Linked DNA regions of Homo sapiens: all the other regions are linked to region 3. The links are contacts of gene promoters, found by promoter capture Hi-C in human tissues and cell types (Jung and others, 2019). All regions are on one chromosome and are shown on one strand. Each heading gives the region's core, a stretch centred on a gene start or on the middle of the fragment in contact. The rest is flanking DNA. Distances are from core to core; before and after follow the strand shown. Region 1 overlaps TNK2 (tyrosine kinase non receptor 2). Region 2 overlaps MUC4 (mucin 4, cell surface associated). Region 3 holds the start of MUC4 (mucin 4, cell surface associated).

Region 1 (3,780 bases), core at 108-2,607, 51 kb after region 3:
CCAGGCTGACCAGTATGGTGAAACCCCATCTCTACTAAAAATCCAAAAATTAAAAATCCAAAAATTAGTCGGGTGTGGTGGTGTGCGCCTGTGGTCCCAGCTACTCAGGTGGCGGAGGCAGGAGAATCACTTGAACCCAGGAGGCAGAGGTTGCAGTGAGCCGAGATTGCACCACTGCACTCTAGCCTGGGCAACAGAGCAAGATGCCGTCTCAAAAAAAAAAAAAAAAAAAAAAACTTGTTCCCTTTTGTGATATATTTGACTAGGTATTTTAAATCACAGTTAAAATAATAGAATTCCTGCCTTTGCAAACGGCATATGCAAAGCTCCCAGGCCTCAGAACTTCTGAGCCTCGGGGCCTACCCACGAAGGCCAGCCTACAGCCAGACACACACGTGGCCCAGACTCACCCTGAATGGCCTCTGTTTTGTTTTCAATAAACCCGAGTCATTAAGCTTACTTTCTTATGATTTACCTCTTTTCCTAAAGTTCACATGATCATATGTGAAGCTCAAAGAGCTAGTTTCCTTGATTGATCCAGTAATTTCCTGGAAAGCAGTAAGAAACCGATGAATAATCTAACATTTTGTAATGGGCCAAGGATATTAATAGGCAACTCATTAAAAAGGAAATACAAATGGCTCAACTTATTTTTGAGTTTATTCGTAAGAGAAATGCATATTAAAACTATAGAAACACTATTTTCTACCAGTCAGTCTGCCAAAGATCAGAAAACTCCTTAACACATGGAAAGCTCCCTTGCACAGGTGGTGTGACAACTGAGAATGTCCCTCCGCTGAGAGCAGGTTCAGCACCACCCACCGCCATGGCACACGCCCTTTGACCTAGCAGTCCCACTGCTGGGAACTCATCTTCAGATTGACGTGCGAGTGAAAAACAGCCCACATACACAATTTACTGAGGCAATGGTTGTAATTGCGAAGGACTGGATGCAACTAAAATTGCCCTTCATCAAAAGGAACCCAGTTAAGTAGGTTATGGTACACCCGTGCATCCACGCAACCCGAAAGAATGGGGAAGCCCAGCCGGGCGCGGTGGCTCATGCCTATAATCCTAGCACTTCGGGAGGCTGAGGCAGGCGGATCACCTGAGGTCAAGAGTTTGAGACCAGCCTGGCCAACATGGAGAAACCCCATCTCTACTAAAAATACAAAAATTGGCTGGGTGTGGTGGCACGTGCCTGTAATCCCAGCTACTCAGAGGCTGAGGCAGGAGAATTGCTTGAACCTGGGAGGCAGAGGTTGCAGTGAGCAGAGATCGCACCACTGTACTCCAGCCTGGGCAACAAGAGCAAAACTGTCTCAAAAAAAAAAAAAAAAAAAAGAATGGGGAAGCACGTTCAGTATTGCTATGGAATTCTTCAAAATATTATTAAGTAAAAACAAAAACAAGCACTACACAAGAAACTGGTGATACAGGCGTCTCTGCACTGGGGAAGTGGACGGCCGCGGTGGGTGATACCCAGTCATTTCACTGTACACTCCTCAGTGCCTTTTCAATTTTGAACCGTATGAACATGAGTTATTCAGAAAAGCAATTAAAATACCTAACATATTGAAGGGTTCCTTGTTGCTAACATTTCTGGCTTGGTTCTATTTAACTGGGTTGCTGTACTCTCTCCTGCAGTATATATCCTGCCTTACAGAAGTCCACGCGGCAAGTGAAATCCAGGCAGTGTGAAAGTCACTGACCAGACCGGCGGGGACTCTGGCCCCGCTGCCGGCCGTGTAAGGGAAGAGGCCTCCCGGTGTCCAGGCCTGCGCGCCCTCCCGCTGCCTCCAGGTGGTGCTACAAGGCCTGCTGCCCGGAGCAGATGCTGGTGGCCTGGGGAGCCTCGCTTGGGGCCTGGAGCTTGCTGACTAACAGGCAAAGAAACAGGCAGGCACAAGTAAGTAACATAAAATAGAAACTAACTTTATTTCTCTGGAAGAAGCAGGTACTGAATGCCGGAGCAGCAACTTCGCCAACAGGCTGGTGGGAAAACATGGAACCGCGTGGGGGAATTGGGTGGAAGAGGAAGCACTGATGTCCCTCCAGGGCGGCTGCCCCTTGGTCTCCTTCCAGCCCTGGGGCCTTGGGCCCTGGTCCCCGCCAGAGAATGGTCTGGCACCCTTTCTCCGCTTCCTGAGCCACCTCAGGCTATTTCCAGGCACAAGATCCTGAGGCCAGCCAAGTCCCATTCAAGTCCATGGTAAGGCCACAAGTCACATTCTGCCCGACACCCCAGCTGCTGCCAGGGGCCCCCTGGAAGAAGGCCCAGTCCTAGGAGGTCCCACCGGGTGCCGGTCCGCCTCTCCCTGTGGCCAACACATCCCGCCTGCCCAGGTCCAGCCTGGTTTCCTCCCAGTCTGTCACCCAGGGCAGGGCCTGGGGGTACTACTCCACCCACAGGCCCCGCCCAGGACCAGGGCCAGAGGCAGGTCATACCCAGAGCCTGCTGGGGCAGCCCTCAAGCCTGTCTTCACCCGGCCCCTTCCACATCTTGGCAGGGGCACCGGGACTGAACCAAAGTGTGCAGGGACAGCGCTGGTGCAGGAGGGATGGGCAGGGCAGGGCTCCCAGCCTCCCGCAGCCTTGGCCTTGCTCCATCCCCGGGAGCAGCAGGAGCAGCGGGTCCTCCAGGACTGGATGGGGGCATCTCCCCACTCCTGGTGGACGGACAGGCTCAGGTGATTCCTTCAGGCAGGCCCTCTGGCTCTCCAGACGCATCTCAGCGCCTAGAGAATGGGAAACCACCAGCACAGTTAAACAGTTTACAGAAGGTTCAGCGGGGCAGGCACCGGGGGTCACACTGGTGCCAGGCAACACCACTGGAAGCTGGCAGTCCCCGGCAAGGACTGTAAAATTTATCATCCTGGATGTCTTTTCTCTGTACTTTAATAAACTATGAGTAAACTAACAGAAGAGCACTCCTGCGTATTAGAGAATCCGAAGACGACAGGTGGGATAGAGCCCAAAGCCTATGTGGATGCAAATCAGTAAGAACCACCCGAGACAGCGACAGACAGGTGACACGGAGTGCCTGCATCCCAGCTGCAAATCAGTAAGAACCACCCCAGACAGCGACAGACAGGTGACACGGAGTGCCTGCATCCTAGATGCAAATCAGTAAGAACCACCCGAGACAGTGACAGACAGGTGACACGGAGTGCCTGCATCCCAGATGCAAATCAGTAAGAACCACCTGAGACAGTGACAGACAGGTGACAGCGAGTGCCTGCGTCCCAGATGCAAATCAGTAAGAACCACCCGAGACAGTGACAGACAGGTGACAGCGAGTGCCTGCGTCCCAGGTGCAAATCAGTAAGAACCACCCGAGACAGTGACAGACAGGTGACACGGAGTGCCTGCGTCCCAGGTGCAAATCAGTAAGAAACACCCGAGACAGTGACAGACAGGTGACAGCAAGTGCCTGCGTCCCGGGTGCAAATCAGTAAGAACCACCCGAGACAGCGACAGACAGGTGACACGGAGTGCCTGCATCCCAGATGCAAATCAGTAAGAACCACCCGAGACAGCGACAGACAGGTGACAGCGAGTGCCTGCGTCCCGGGTGCAAATCAGTAAGAACCACCCGAGACAGTGACAGACAGGTGACACGGAGTGCCTGCGTCCCAGGTGCAAATCAGTAAGAACCACCCGAGACAGTGACAGACAGGTGACAGCGAGTGCCTGCGTCCCAGATGCAAATCAGTAAGAACCACCCGAGACAGTGACAGACAGGTGACAGCGAGTGCCTGCGTCCCAGATGCAAATCAG
Region 2 (4,142 bases), core at 1,643-4,142, 51 kb before region 3:
CGCACCTGGGAGGACGCACATGGGGCAAAAGGGATGCAGGCAAAGCAGTCCCTTCTGAGACACAGAGAGAAAGAACATCAGGCAGAGAGGCAAAGAGAACGCAAAATATGCCCCCCGGGGCTTTGGTTTAGCCAAGAACAGTCACCCTCAGAATTAGTGCTGGCAACAGACAGAAAGTGGCATCCCTTTGATGCCCTTGGACCCTTTGAATTAGTGCTGGCAACAGACGAAAGCAGCGTCCCTTGTGCTTGGAGCCTTTGGCCCTGATCATGGATGTAGGGCTCGGGGTCTCTAACACCTTTACGGAGAGGGAGCGATGGCACTCTACTGGGTCCTAGCCCAGGAAACCAGACAAGGAGAGACACGGCTAGGTAAACATGGTTGCCAGACAAAAAGAGCAAGAAAGGTACCAAACGAAAGTATTTTTCATATTTCTTTAAATCTTGTCCTACATTAGAGCCTTCCTTTAATAGATATAAAAATGTTGTAAATTGGTCATTTTAAATGTTGCACTTGATTATTCTAATAATTTGGTGAATGCATAATGACTAAAGATGACTATATATGATCAGATTGAGATTAAATGATCTTCAAATCTTTTTTTTGAGACAGAGTCTCGCTCTGTCACCAGGCTGGAGTGCAGTGACGCGATCTCAGCTCACTGCAACATCTGCCTCCTGGGTTCAAGCGATTCTCCTGCCTCAGTCTCCTGAGTAGCTGGGATTACAGGCATGCACCACCATGCCTGGCTTTTTTTTTTTTTTTTGTATTTTTAGTACAGACGGGGTTTCACCATGTTGGCCAGACTGGTCTCGAACTCCTGACCTCAGATGATCCGCCCACCTCGGCCTCCCAAAGCGCTGGGATGACAGGCATGAGCCACCGCGCCCAGCCTTGAATCAGTTCTATGTGCCCAGAGTCACTCTAGCTATCTGGCCAAACCGCCGTAAGCCCGTCACTACTACTTACTGGGGGGCACCTATTTGAGTTATAGATATCGCTCCTCGGAAATGCCGGTCCTGGATATTCAAATGAAAGAGTGACAGCAAGTGTTGCTGGGTGTAGCAATGCAGAATTTCCCAAATTTGACTCTGACCTCATCCCCTACCCACCTCCCCACTCTCCCCAGCCAGCCAAATAGTCCTACCAAAGAGCTCCAAGTCGGTGCAGCTGTCTCTGAGCGTGAAGTTGGCATCCTCAGCATTGCTGGTGTACTGAATCAGCGTGGTCTGCCCCTTGTAGGCTTCAATCACACGACCACCATTGATGGAGGGCGGGTACTGATCTGAAACACAAAGAGGGAATGGGGGTTCCGAGGCAGGACAGTCTCCTGCTTTATCAGCCTCCTCTCTTTCTCAACTCTAATATGTGTGAGGCATTCCCAGGACTGTGACCCACCTCTGGAAGAAGGAATTATTCTGTGTACCTGCTCTCGACTGACGCACAGCAGGCTGGGACTGTACTGCCCACCTAGCCAAATCTTTAGCCTCTTTCTCTCCCCCCACCTCCTCAAAAAGAGCTCCTTTCAGATTCTTTCCTGAACACAGTGCTATGCTGGGTATGACAAAAAGTGAATTAGAGAGCAGATTTGTTTGGACCATTACAAAGGGTTGTACCCTTAGACCAAAGGGTTGTACCTTTGGCAAAGGGCTGAAAACCTGAAGGGTGCTGGGTGTCTCATGTCTGTAATCCCAGCACTTTGGGAGGCCGAGGCCGGTGGATAACCTGAGGTCAGGAGTTCGCGACCAGCCTGACCAACATGGTGAAACCCTGTCTCTACTAAAAATACAAAATTAGTCAGGCATGGTGGCGGGTGCCTGTAATCTCAGCTATTCAGGAGGCTGAAACAGAAGAATCGCTTGAACCCGGGAAGCAGAGGTTGCGACGAGCCGAGATCACGTCACTGCACTCCAGCCTGGGCAACAAGAGCGAAACTCCGTCAACACACACACACACACGCACAAAACCTGGAGGGTCACATCTAAAGGGACATTGCATTTGTCCAGAAATAGAGAGGGAGTGAAACCTCTTCACGGGTCTGTTTCTCGGAGCCCTGCCATTTCCATTTCATAGTTGCTTCACACATTCATTCAGTCAGTCATTTAACAAACATTTATTGAGCTAAGTGGCTGGCACTGTTCTGGGTGGTGAGGATACAGTCATGAATGAATAATTAAAAAGATACCTGTGAAAATTATAAAATATGTTGAGTAATTATAAATGCTAAGGAGAAAAAAATAAAGCAGGGAAGGCAAACATGAAGTGTGGGTGAATGTGACATTTTAGACAGGGCGGCCAAGAGAGGCCTCACCAAGGAGGGGACATTGGAATGAAGACGTAAAGAAGGTGAGGGGCAAGCGTGTGGCTGTCCAGGGAAGGAAGGGTATTCCAGGCAAGAGAACAGCACGTGTGAAGCCTGGGAGCTGAGCGCACCTAGCGTGTTTGAAGAACACAGAGGAGCCTGCGGGGCTGGAGTGCAGGGAGCTGGGAAGGGGTCCAGCGCTAGGATGGAGTGGAGGGGGCTGGGAAGGCATCCAGCGCTAGGATGGATGGAGGGGGCTGGGAAGGGGTCCAGCGCTAGGATGGAGTGGAGGGGGCTGGGAAGGCGTCCAGCGCTAGTATGGAGTGAAGGGGGCTGGGAAGGCATCCAGCGCTAGGATGGACGGAGGGGGCTGGGAAGGCGTCCAGCACTAGGAGAAGAGCTCTGAGAAGCTGAACTGGGCCGAAGGCCACTGCAAGGATGGAGAGAGCCAGGGAAGTCTCTGAAGGGTTTGAGCAGAGGAATGCCAGGAGTGGAAGAATCTGCTCAGTGAATGCAGATGCACAGGGAAAAGCAGGGTCAGGCAAGGGCAGCTCCTCATCTGCTCCCGACTCTGAAAAGGCCTCCCCAGGCCTCGGGCCACTTACTGAGGGTGGCGTTCGCCTGCTCGTAGTTTTTACTGACTTCCCTCGTGTGAAGTCCGATGCTTGCGTTGCGCAGGGCCAGGGTGTCATAGATGCATGAGCTATCTCCGTCACAGTTGGAGATCAAATGTTCAGCCCAGGAGCTGTTTTTTTGCAGTTGTGAGTAGAAAACAGGGGTGAAGTTGGAAGGCAGCTGGTCATTCCTCTTGCCAAGGAGGCCTGTCCCGTTGATCTGCCCTGTAACACACAGAGCGCGGTGGTACCAGGCATGGCACTCAGCCTTATTCCATCTGTGTCCACCTCTACCCCTCACTTTAGATGGCTTGGAGCGGGGCGGTGGGAGTGCAGGGCCAGAGCGGTTTCCAGCTTCTGAGTCTAGAAACACCTGCTGCAGTGAGAGAGGACACTCCACGTCCCCCATTCTCTCCTCCAGGTAGAGAGAGGCAGGTGGGCTGGTGGTGGTGGGGACAGCCCTGGGGGGGCACAGATTCCTCAGACCTTAGGGAGGATGGAGGTCTGCTTCCTACAGGGCCGAGGGGGACGACATAAACATACCGGCTCCCCTCACCTGCCCCTCTGCCCCAGGACCCTGCCCAGACTCACAGGTCATTCCAAAGTGGAAAAGCATCTCCTCAGGGCTCCCTGGGGGAATGGTGGAGCCATTGGGCATCCTGAAGTCGTCCTCTGGATTGTTATTCCAGACCCCTGAGGGACAGAGTGGGAGGTTGGCCACCCTGGGCACGCGGCTGTCCCCTTCCTGGGGAGCATCCGGCGGACGCAGTGGGGAGAGGCCAGGGCCTGGCAGCCTCTGCTCTTGCACCTGCTGTCAGGCCTCCAGGGGAGCCGGGAGGACGGGCCCTCACACCCTGCCCGTCTGCCTTCGGGAGGGGCGGGAGGAAACGCGGGCAGCGGTGGAGGAGGGCGGGAGGATGTGGGAGGCAAGAGGAAAGGGAGAAAGGATGGCTGTGCCCCCCGCCTCCCCGCAGCCCCCCCTGATGCTCCCTTAGAGCGGGCGGAGGACAGGAAGGGAGCCTCGGGGGAGGCTGGAGAAGCCCCTCGGCTCCCGGCCCGCTCTGTGCCCCAAGGGTTCTGCTCCAAGGAGGCGGAGAAAGGGAGGCCGAGCAGGGCTGCCCGGGCCGCCGGCGTGGGGGTCCGAGCTCCGGCTGGCTCCGCGGAGCCTCAGAGGCAGGTCCGAGCCGCCCTCACCCAGGAGCCCCTCCGTGCGGTTCTGGTACTCG
Region 3 (3,659 bases), core at 287-2,786:
CCCCAAAGACTCAGACACCCAGAAACACAGAATAAAACTTGGTCCTGAAGCCAGAGGGACAGCCTGGAAAGTGTGGGGAAGAGGACGGGGGCCCCCGAGGGAACATCTCCCACAGGCCTGGCATCCCTCCCCTCCCAGCTCTGTACACGGAGGAGCCCAAGGCCAATGCCGGGGCTACGAGCCCCAGGCAAGGCCGTGACCCAAATGGAGGCTTTTAAACCCGAGCTCAGAGGTAAGAAGCCCACGGCCAGCACCTCCCGGCCCTCTGCGCCCTGGCCGCCTCCTCCGCACCACCCTCCCGGCCGGCCTGCCCCTCTCCTCCTTGTCGCTTCCCTTGCTTGCTGCTGTCTCCCGATCTTCTCCTCTCTCCATTCCCAGGGTCCTCAGTTTGTCTGCGTCTCACCTGTCTCGTCCTCTCACCCTGCAGCTTTACATGAGTTTTCTTCCGTCTCCATCACCCAGCTTTCCTGGCATCCCCTCTACCCCCAGCTCTGTACACAAGGGTGTACATCTTTCTCCTTGACTCTGTTCCTCTTGCTCTGGCTCTGCCTGTCTTTCTCTCTGCGAGTAAGCCTGGGCTCTCACCATGGATCCTTCCAGACATCGCCGGGCTGCTCTCTGGCCCTCTGTTCTCTTTTCTCTCTCTTTCGAGCATTCTCCCTCTGTCTTTCCCCTCAGATCTTGTCCCGTATCTGCCAGTTCATGCCTCCTCTTCCCCACTTTTCTCCTCTTCTTATTTTTTATTTTATTTTATATTTATTTATTTATTTATTTATTTATTTATTTATTTATTTATTTTGAGACAGAGTCTCGCTCTCTCTCCCAGGCTGGAGTGCAGTGGCGCGATCTTGGCTCACTGCAACCTCCACCTCCCAGGTTCAAGTGATTCTCCTGCCTCAGACTCCTGAGTAGCTGGAATTACAGGTGGGGCCCACCACGACCGGCTAATTTTTGTATATTTAGTAGAGACGGGGTTTCACCATGTCGGCCAGGCTGGTCTCGAACTCCTGACCTCAGGTGATCTCCTGCCTTGGCCTCCGAAAGTGCTGGGATTACAGGCATGAGCCACCGCGCACGGCCTCCACTCTTCTTTCTCTCTCCCTCTTCTCTTCCTCTTCTTTCCCTCTCTGGGTCTCTCTCCACCTTCCCCCCATGTTGTCCCATTCATCTCTTTCTCCTTTCCCTCTCCCTCTTTTTCTCTCCCTTCTCTTCCTCTTCGCTGTCTCCCTTTCCCCTATTCTCTCTCTCTCTCTCTCTGTCTCCCCGGACCTCTTTCTCTGACAGCTCCCACCTCCCCCAAGTGCTCCCCGCAGCCAGCCTCATCTGCTGTCTCCATCACTTACCTGGGACCACATGCGGAAGGAGGCAGAGACACAGGCAGCTCAGGGACACCCAGGGGACCCTCCTCCAGCGTGCCCCCTTCATGGCTGCGGCAAAAGTCCCCCTGGCTCCCTGGGGAAGCTCCACGGCCCAGCAGCTGCAGTGTGAGGAGCAGACGTGAGCCCGTCCCCTCAGGCGGCTGGCCCGAACCAAGTGCGTTTCTCCGAAGGGGCCAGGGAACCTGGGAAGAGGACAAAAGAGGGCGGGGCCCCACGCTAATCACCCTTTTCTCTCCTCAGCCCCACCCCACTACCCCACCAGGAAAGAAAACACCGATACACCCGTTGCTCTGCTTCTCATCAGCCTGAGCTGAGTGGCGGGAGGGATGGGAGGAGACATGGGGGAATGGGAACAGGTCACACTGGAAATGGGTGGGCCACCCTCCTAGCCGGGTTCCTGGGTCCTCTCCTCCCTCCCCAGGGGCTGCCCCTGTCCCACCAGAGCTTTGGGCTGCTGGGAAGAATGGGGAAGAAAGGGCCCCAGAGGGAGCGACCTTGGGGCTGTATGAATGGGGGAAAGAGAGTGAGACTTAAGCAGACCCCAAGGAATTGGGAAGCGGGGAACCATGTGGGTGAGGGGCAGGAACAGAAATGCACTGTATGCCGTCTTTTGGAAAGGGGTGGTGTGCTTGGAATATCTGCTCAGTGCAGGCGCGTGGCAGACCCCAGACGCGTGGCAGACCCCAGACGCGTGGCAGACCCCAGACGCGTGGCAGAACCTCAGTGCAGATGCGTGGCAGACCCCAGACGCACGGCAGATCCCAGACACATGGCAGACCCCAGACCCATGGCAGACTCCAGACGCGTGGCAGACCCCAGACGCGTGGCAGACTCCAGACGCATGGCAGAACCTCAGTGCAGACTCGTGGCAGAACCTCAGTGCAGACGCATGGCAGACCCCAGATGCGTGGCAGACCCTCACCAGATGGTGGACTTCTTCTTTCCAGGGCAGGGAGCTGGAGCCAGGGTGCAGGGAGCCAGGGACAGTCTGGGAGACTGGCCTGAGGGAGCTGGCATGGGCAGTGGGTTGAAGGCAGAACCTCGGTAGGAGGAAGCGACTGTAACCTGTGAGGAGGTGGAGCTGCTCCTGGAGACCTGGGGGCTCTGCTCACCCCAGTTCCACCTCTTGGAACTCACAGGCACAAGCGAGGAGGGAAAGGGACCCCAAGTAGGGTTGTAAAGACGAAGAGGGCAGTTGGTGTAGCTCTCTGCAAAGGAAAACGGGGATACCTCCGCTCCCCTCTTTGCCACAGTGTGAATCTCTGCTTCTGATTCCTCAAGACTTGATTCCCGAATGTGGGGTGTCTGTGGGGTGACTCGTCCCAGAGCAGGGACCTTCGATGCTCAGACACTGTGGGGCCCAGGACAAGGACTCAGGGTTTCTGCATTCCCAAGCAGAGCCAGCCTTGTCCAGCAAGGAGTAGGCAACCGACGCTGTGGCGCTGTCTCCGAGGGTCACGGAGGCCCTGTGACCACTTGCTTCTAGAAGCTGAAAGTCTGTTCATGGCCCCAGGCCAAAGCCTGGGCCACGCCATAATAATGCGGATACCGTGGGGAAGTGGCGTGGTCCCCCAACAGTCCCTCCAGCTCTGGGTGGACGAGCTGACCCTGTTCTTTCCTGGAGGTAAGAAAATCATAAAGGTAAAGAGTCATGTGGAGCATCCTGTGGGCGCCTGGACGGGGCAGCAGGAGGGACCTACTGCAGGGAATTCGCAGACACCAAGGCCCAGCTTGGCCTTCGTGATCATTTTGCACTTTTTTTTTTTTTTGAGATGGAGTCTTGCTCTGTCGCCCAGGCTGGAGTGCAGTGGCACCATCTCAGCTCACTGCAAGCTCCGCCTCCCGGGTTCACGCCATTCCCCTGCCTCAGCCTCCCTAGTAGCTGGGACTACAGGCACCTGCCACCACGCCCGGCTAATTTTTTTTGTATTTTTAGTAGGGACGAGGTTTCACCATGTTGGCCAGGTTGGTCTCGAACCCCTGAACTCAGATGATCCGCCCGCCTTGGCCTCCCAAAGTGCTGGGATTACAGGCGTGAGCCACTGCACCCGGCCCGTGGTCATTTTTCTGTCAGCTCTTGCTCGTGGGTCCCCCCATTACCTTTCCACAGGTTTTGTTTGGTGACGCTTTCAGGACAACAGTTTTCCATCTCTAGAGGAGAAAGGAGCATCCAGGTGAGACCAAACTAAGCGCTGGACATCTTGTTGACCGAACACAGGTAGCTGACCTCTTTCCCATGCCAGGAAGGCCAGAGGCACACAGCGCTCTCCGGAAGCTGCT

Evidence for each region. Contacts are between HindIII fragments. The study calls those that stand out against the background at their distance.
Region 1: a contact is called between a fragment that was not itself captured here and the fragment with the promoter of MUC4 in region 3, in 4 of the 25 tissues and cell types used here (aorta, lymphoblastoid cells, ovary and 1 more).
Region 2: a contact is called between a fragment that was not itself captured here and the fragment with the promoter of MUC4 in region 3, in 1 of the 25 tissues and cell types used here (mesenchymal stem cells).

Annotation. Positions count from the first base shown.
Region 1 is chr3:195,861,450-195,865,229 of GRCh38, forward strand. It overlaps TNK2 (tyrosine kinase non receptor 2), which reads right to left. Exons shown (of 16, transcript NM_001382273.1): 16 at 1,915-2,738. The coding sequence ends at 2,732. Among named protein-coding and RNA genes, the nearest start is that of LINC01983, 2.9 kb to the left of the region's middle. The HindIII fragment of the contact is 7,484 bases long and covers 1-3,780 here.
Region 2 is chr3:195,757,977-195,762,118 of GRCh38, forward strand. MUC4 (mucin 4, cell surface associated) reads right to left here. Exons shown (of 25, transcript NM_018406.7): 14 at 4,111-4,142; 15 at 3,508-3,609; 16 at 2,908-3,141; 17 at 1,148-1,285. Among named protein-coding and RNA genes, the nearest start is that of MUC20, 39 kb to the left of the region's middle. The HindIII fragment of the contact is 7,333 bases long and covers 1-4,142 here.
Region 3 is chr3:195,810,393-195,814,051 of GRCh38, forward strand. MUC4 (mucin 4, cell surface associated) reads right to left here and starts at 1,537. Exons shown (of 25, transcript NM_018406.7): 1 at 1,344-1,537. The coding sequence starts at 1,425. The HindIII fragment of the contact is 26,053 bases long and covers 1-3,659 here.